Linked DNA regions of Homo sapiens: region 2 is linked to region 1. The links are contacts of gene promoters, found by promoter capture Hi-C in blood cells and fetal thymus (Javierre and others, 2016). All regions are on one chromosome and are shown on one strand. Each heading gives the region's core, a stretch centred on a gene start or on the middle of the fragment in contact. The rest is flanking DNA. Distances are from core to core; before and after follow the strand shown. Region 1 holds the start of RETREG1 (reticulophagy regulator 1). Region 2 overlaps LINC02100 (long intergenic non-protein coding RNA 2100).

Evidence for each region. Contacts are between HindIII fragments. The CHiCAGO score rates a contact against its expected background, and 5 or more counts as called.
Region 2: a fragment that was not itself captured here is called in contact with the fragment with the promoter of RETREG1 in region 1 in 1 of 17 cell types (activated CD4 T cells); the score reaches 6.2 in activated CD4 T cells.

Annotation. Positions count from the first base shown.
Region 1 is chr5:16,615,450-16,618,772 of GRCh38, forward strand. RETREG1 (reticulophagy regulator 1) reads right to left here and starts at 1,548. Exons shown (of 9, transcript NM_001034850.3): 1 at 1,203-1,548. The coding sequence starts at 1,522. It overlaps RETREG1-AS1 (RETREG1 antisense RNA 1), which reads left to right and starts at 477. Exons shown (of 4, transcript NR_109946.1): 1 at 477-1,037. RefSeq lists a silencer at 1,302-1,791. The HindIII fragment of the contact is 3,701 bases long and covers 855-3,323 here.
Region 2 is chr5:18,741,676-18,744,998 of GRCh38, forward strand. All of the region lies in intron 1 of LINC02100 (long intergenic non-protein coding RNA 2100), which reads right to left. Among named protein-coding and RNA genes, the nearest start is that of LINC02100, 2.8 kb to the right of the region's middle. RefSeq lists an enhancer at 3,283-3,323. The HindIII fragment of the contact is 6,048 bases long and covers 1-3,323 here.

The sequences.
Region 1 (3,323 bases), core at 298-2,797:
TTAAAAACATCGTAAACATTAGTGAGACACAGCCCTAAGACTATTAGACTATTGCCCAATCTAGCATAAGACAATATGTCCTTCTTATTTGAGTGCTCGCATTCACTCCATAATAAGATAGATTTGGAATAAACTCTATTCCAAACACAGATACCTAAGAGATCCAAAGTTAATTCACTTTCAGGGACCTCCGACAAGATACAGCTAGTTTTAAGAGAAAACACCAGGACTAGCAGAGATCTGAGGAAAATATTCATCTTGCTCAAGTTAACCTAGAAAATGACAGGCTGTCTATTTTGTGCAATTTATTTATTTCTCAACTTTAAGGTTCAGAAATCTCTGTCCTGTAACAAGGTATCTGTTACCGGAGTCTGATTATTCTGCACTGTGTAGGTCATGTTTGTTATGAGGACACTTAGCAAACAAAGAAGGTTTTTCTCCGCCCTCAATAGCGTGGTAACGGATGACAGGACACCACTTTCAACGAAGGAGACAGACATTTCCCTGGCCTTTCTGAAGAGCGCTTTTTGGAGAGACAAACCTGTTGCTCAGGGGCTGAGCATTCCCGTGTGTTCTCCCTGTACTTCACCTAAAAATATGCCTGTTTTCCACACTGTGCACACCCGGGGGTGGGTGCTGGGCATACTCCACCTGCTTGTTTGCCTCCCGTTTTCTCATCAGGGAGTAAACACAGTAAACCTAACGCTCCAGGGGAAGGAAAAAACAAATCATTCAGGGCCCATCTCAGGTGACTGATGAATGCGGCACCGTTTTGAACGGGTACCTAATCTGGTCCAGATATGCCTGCTGGGGCTGCAAGAACCAAGACACGTTCAAGCACGTTTGCTCCGGCAAGCTTGGGCGAGCAGGTCAAGACCTCAGAGTTTTAGAAAGCAGGGGCGAAGTTTTCAAGCACGATGGGAACACCTGTAGGTGCAGGTGCCTGAGGGTCGGCCGACCACCTCGCATCTGAGGCTGGATCCGCACACGGAGAACGACAACTGCTCACAGGGACGTGCGTCCGGAGGAAAGTTGCGGTGAGTGTCTACCTGTTCGAGACAGGTGGCCGAGAAAGTGGGGCAGGGCTGACAATTCTTCCTCCGCAGTGTCCCGCGGGCTCCCCCTGCACTGGGTCCCCGGGGCCCCGGGCGCCCCAAGGTCACCTGCCCTCCTCAGCGCCCCCACCTTGCCCAAGCTCTCACCAGAACAGCAGGTTGGCAGCGACGAAGCCGAGCAGGCTCCGCAGCGGCCTCTTCCAGCTCAGCAGCTCGTCGGCGCGGCAGCCCAGCCACAGCACCGGCTCCCCGAGCAGCCAGGTTACCGCGGCCGCCGCCCGGCCCGCGGCCTCCTCCACCTGCAACCCCGCGCCCTCCGCCGCCCCAGCTTCCTGCGCTTCCTCCTCCTGCTGCTGCCGCTCTGCGGGGGATGCCTGGGGCGGTGGCGGCGACGGCGGCGCCTGCTCCTCGGCGGCAGGAGCCGGGCATCCCTCCTCGGCGTGCTCCGGAGGCGCCGGGCTCGCCATCTTCAGCTGTGCTTCCAGACAGGGACGGGGCCGGGCGCGCGCGCGGGCGCGCCTGGGTGTGGGTGCCGCCGAGGGCGGGGCGGCGGTGGCGGCAGGTCCCGGAGCGGGGCGCGCACCGCGGGGCACAGGCGGCTGGGGGCCTTGTGACGCCACAGGCCACGGAGGGGGAGCCGCCCGGGAAAGTGGGTGCGGCCGAGTTCGCGCAGGGGCGGGGCCGGGCGCCGGGAGCTGGGCGGTGTCCCCGGGGGGCTCTGGGTTCCTGGAGGGCCTCTCCGGGACTCGAGGAAAACGACCTTTTCCCTTGCAGCGGCGGGAGAGGGCGAAGTGGAGGACTGCTGCTCGGTTCCGTATCCAAAAGAGACCCAAGGCTCCAGGCAAAATAGATTGGACATTTTCACTTTCTCAAGCCAGGGCCACCGGTCGCCCAACCAGCAGCCACTGAGGGTGGTATCGGGGCGCCCCTTCCCCTGGCAGCGTATTTCAGCCCCCAGAGACATCCCCCACCTCGGCCATCCCCAGCGCCTTTGCAGGGACAGCAGCACAACCATAGCAGAGGTCCTGGGCATCCTGGAAATAACGTGCTGGTATAAATGTTGGATTGAGAAAGGAAGAAAAAACATTTGGGGTCAATTTGGGGCCCTCTCGTTTGACACGGGAGGAAACACAAGGCCGCAGCGTTGGGGGAAGCTGCTTCCTTTCTCTCTCTTCTTTCTCTCTGTCTCAGGTGCTTCCTTTCTCTTCTCTGTCTCTCTCTCTCTCTCTGCCTCTCCCTCTCTCTCCCCCGTCTCTCCCCCTATCTTCCCCTCTCTCCTCCTATCTCCCCCTCTCTCCCCCTCCTTGTGGCTAGGTGATCTGGCTCAGAAGTGCACGTTGGCCCGCGCGTGCGGGGAGCTGAGAAGCAAGAGATTGGAACTTTGCACGTGTCAAGCAAGGTTTGGCCTGCTTTGAAGACAGTAATTTCAGAGCCACTCCGGTCTCTGCGTCACAAGCGGGCATCAGGGCAGTGGTGGGGCGGCAGGGGATCCTGAGACCTCCCATGCCCTCTCTTTGGCCCCGGTGCTTCTGGGTGAGTGTGGGGAGAGAGGAAAATAGTTGTTTATGCTTTTCACCATTTGCATTTTTAAATTTTTGTCTTCTTTAATCTTCCTGGTCTTACTTTTACTCTAGAATGACAGGTCCTTCCCCCCCATACTAAGGGTTCTGTCTGCGGATGCATCAGGGCATCTCATATCCCTTTACTGGCAACCAGCCTGCCTGCACAGGATGGAAGGGAGGGCAATTAAATTCCCTGCGTCAAGGGAGTCTCTAGGGGAATGTTCTGTAACGCTCCTCTGGGTGGCCATTGTAAACCTCTGTGTATACACACGTGGAATCCATTGATCTGTACATTCACTGCAGGTGTCTGCACTTTACTGCTTGTATGTTGTACTTCAAAGGAGTTATATTCCCAGAGCCCAGGCAAAGGCTTACTGAGCACCTACCGAGTACACAAAGCATTGCTAAGCTCTGTGGATGCAGCTTCCACCCACAGGAAGCTCCCAGTCTGATGAGGGCCCAGTTACAATTGTGATATCTGCCACAGCGAAGAAGCCTTCGCTAAGTGCTAAGAGATTCCTTACTTAAACTGTGCATCCAAAATTAGGGGAGGAGTGGAGGGATCAGGTTTCAAGAGCGTTTTGTAATAAATGGCCTCTGCCCTAAATTGTAGGGCCCCCATTAGTGTGGGGATTGGGGACAGGGGCAATAACTGCTGTTGGGAATTCAACAGGAGAGGAGGCATGGGGTTGCAGGTGGAGACGCA
Region 2 (3,323 bases), core at 279-2,778, 2.1 Mb after region 1:
CTGCCTACTCTTGGTAAATGCAAACTCAAAAGGAACTAAATAGTTGAGACATTTGTAGGTCAAGGACAAAGTTAAATATTATCATTTTAAATTAGCAGAGATAATAACCTGTGATTTTGATTATACAGTGATGTGTTGCTTAGCCTTTGGTATATGTTCTGAGAACTCTCTCCTTAGGTGATTTTGCTGTTGTGCAAATGTCATAAAGTGTACTTACACAAACTTAGATGGTATAGCCTACTACACACTTAGGCTATATGGTATAGCCTATAGCTCCCGAGCTACAAATCTGTACAGCATGTTACTGTACTAAATACCAAAAGCAACTGTAACATGATGGTAAATATTTGGGTATCAAAATATATCTAAACATAGATAAGGTACATATTTAAAAGATAAAAAATGATACACCTGTATAGGGCCGTTACCAAGAATGGAGTTTGCCAGATTGAAAATTGCTCTGGGTGAGTCAGTGAGTGAGTGATGAGCGAATGCAAAGTCCTAGAACCTAACTGTACACTACCCATAGTTTTTATATGCACAGTACACTTAGGCTACTCTAAATTTATTTTAAATATTCTTTTTTCAATAATAAATTAACCTTAGATTAATGTACTTTTAATTTATGTTATTGTTAAATAATATTAATAATATTAATAACTATGCATATTCATGGAGTACATAGTCATGTTTTGATCACAGTAATAGCACATTCATTATTTAAAACATTTATCACTTCTTTTTATTAAGAATGTTCAATGTCTTCCCTGTGGTGTTTGTTCTCAGTTCGGTGGCATTCCAATGTTCGGGAACAGGTACTGGGACGGATGGTTTAAAGCATAAGGGGAGGCACATCAAGCAGTCAGCTGGATTTTGGCTGGAGGCCTTGCGAATTTCGGTAAGGGTGACATTAAATAAATTTAGCAAGAAGGAGTGAGTGTGAAGAGTTTTGTGTAGCTTTGAGAGGTCTAATCCTTTGTAGGGACTGGGTGTGCTAAGGGTTTGAATGGCCCTTGCTTTAGCTGATATGTCCCTCCCTAGTAAAGGGGTAGGGCTCTCAGGCATAAGAAAGGCATGTGAGAAAAATAAGGTTCCCCAGTCACAACTTAGGGGGTAGGAGAAATGCCTAGTGACTGGCTGTCCTAGGACCCCTTTGATGGTGACAGACCAGGAAGATACTGACCAGGACAGAAGAGTAAAACTGAGAAGGCCGCACCAGTGTCCAGGAGGAAGTTAGTTTCCTGGCCCTCAATGGTTACACTTAGCCGGGGCTCTGTGAGGGTGATGGCATGGGCTGGCACCTGTCCCGGGCACCCTCAGTCCTGTTGTTGGACCATCTGGGTAGTGGCCTCTGGCCCAGAGGACTTTCGCCTTCGGGGGCAGTGTGCCTTCCAGTGATCCCTCTGGCACAAGGGACATAGAAGAGGGGGCAGCTTATTTTTGTTTGGGCGGTCCTTTTTGAAGTACCCCTGTAAGCTGCACTGATAACAAGCCCTGTTAGGCGGGTTGCCTGCCCAGCCCTTCTTTCTTTCAGAGCCACTGAAGTTCATCTGCCTGAGGGTCATGACTAAGGTGACGGCCTTTTTCTTGTCTCATCTGTCTCACTCAGCCTGATCCTCCTGATCCCTATTATAAAATACTGAAGTTGCCAAATTCAATCGAGTTTTCAAATTTTGCTCAGGGCCCAGGGCAGACTTTTGAAGTTCTTTTCTAATGTGTGCAGCTGACTGAGTAATAAACTTACCCTTTAAAATTAGTTGGCCTTCAACAGAGTCAGGTGACAAGGAGGTATGCTTTCTTAATGCCTCCCTTAGCCTCTCTAAAAATGCCGTAGGGTTTTCTTCCTTTTCCTCTGTTATGGTGGCCATCACTGAGTAATTCATTGGCTTTTTTCTGGTCTTTCTTAATCCCTCTACTATACAAGTCAGTAAATGCCTGAGACTCAAGTCTCCATGCTCCGAGTTGAGGTCCCAGTGGGGATCCACACTGGGAACTGCCTGTTGGCCTGTGGGGAGTTGTTCCCTTTCTTCTGATGTCATTTTATCATTTACCTGGCTTAGGTACCAGAGATCCCCAAACTCCTGGGCTGCAACTAAGGTGGCCTGTTTTTTGTTGGGAGTTAATGTTTGACCTAACAACAACATAATATCTCTCCATGCTAAACTAAAAGATTGTCCTAATCCTTGTAAGACATCTATGCATCCATCAGGATTATCTGAGAATTTTTCTCCGTTCAGTTTGATCTGTTTTAAGTCTGAGAGGGAAAAGGGGACATGTACTCACACCAGGCCAAAGTCTCCTCCTCCTCCCATGGCTTGGAGGGGGCACAATCGAGGGCCATTGGCGCCTTTTGGTTACTTGACTATCTTTGGGTCTGGTTCCTTTTGGGCCGTTAGGGCCAAAGGAGAGTCCTTACTAGTCAGAGGGGGAGCCGTGGGGAGCCCTGGGTATGGGGGTAGGCTTTGAGGATCCCCGGTAGGATATATATATTACATTTTTTACATAATTGTGGGTTTTCCGTTAGTGAGAAAAAACCTGTACATATGGCACTTCACTCCATTTGCCCTCTCTTTTACAAAAGAGATCTAGCTGTAGGATGGTATTATAGTTTATACTTCCCTTGGGTGGCCATGTCTCTCCTCCAGGAAGAGGATATTGTGGCCGGGTGGTGCTGCAGAAAAATATAAGTCGCTTCTTCTTCAGCATTTGAGGGTCTAATTGGTCCCAATTATCCAGACTACACCTTAGGAGTGGCTTAGCTTTTGAGGGAACGTCTCCTATCTGAAAGGAGAACATAGGAGTGCCTGCACCCCTAGTCATCACCTAGTGAGCACTCTCCCTAGGGCATCCCCTATGGTTCTAGTGTCCTCTTCTTTCCAGGGTGCCCAATCACCCATGGAACTCTGCTTATCAGATTTAATTGTGCTTACTAACATAGCAGTTTTGCTCACACTCATTTCCTGCCTCTTTTTAGCCACAGAAAAAAGGGCCCAGGGCTGCTCGATTTTAGTGGCTCCTTACCAGCATGCCCACAGTTGTCTTTGCATCTGCGAGTGGGTCTTAGGTTAGGGGTGTATTTTGAGTTCAGAGACCAGGCACCAATTAGCATATTTCTGGGCTTGGAGTTGTCCCAGCAAGATAAATTCCTTGAAAATGGCACTGGAGCACAACAGTTTTAGAGTAGGCAGTGGCAAATTGGAGGACCAAGGTTGGAACAGTGCTTTTTGTACCCGAATTCTGACCCCATTTTCCCTCAAAAGAATATTCATTGACCTTTGGACTTGGATCAGGGGACCTATTGTCTATTACATTGTTGTCAGCCC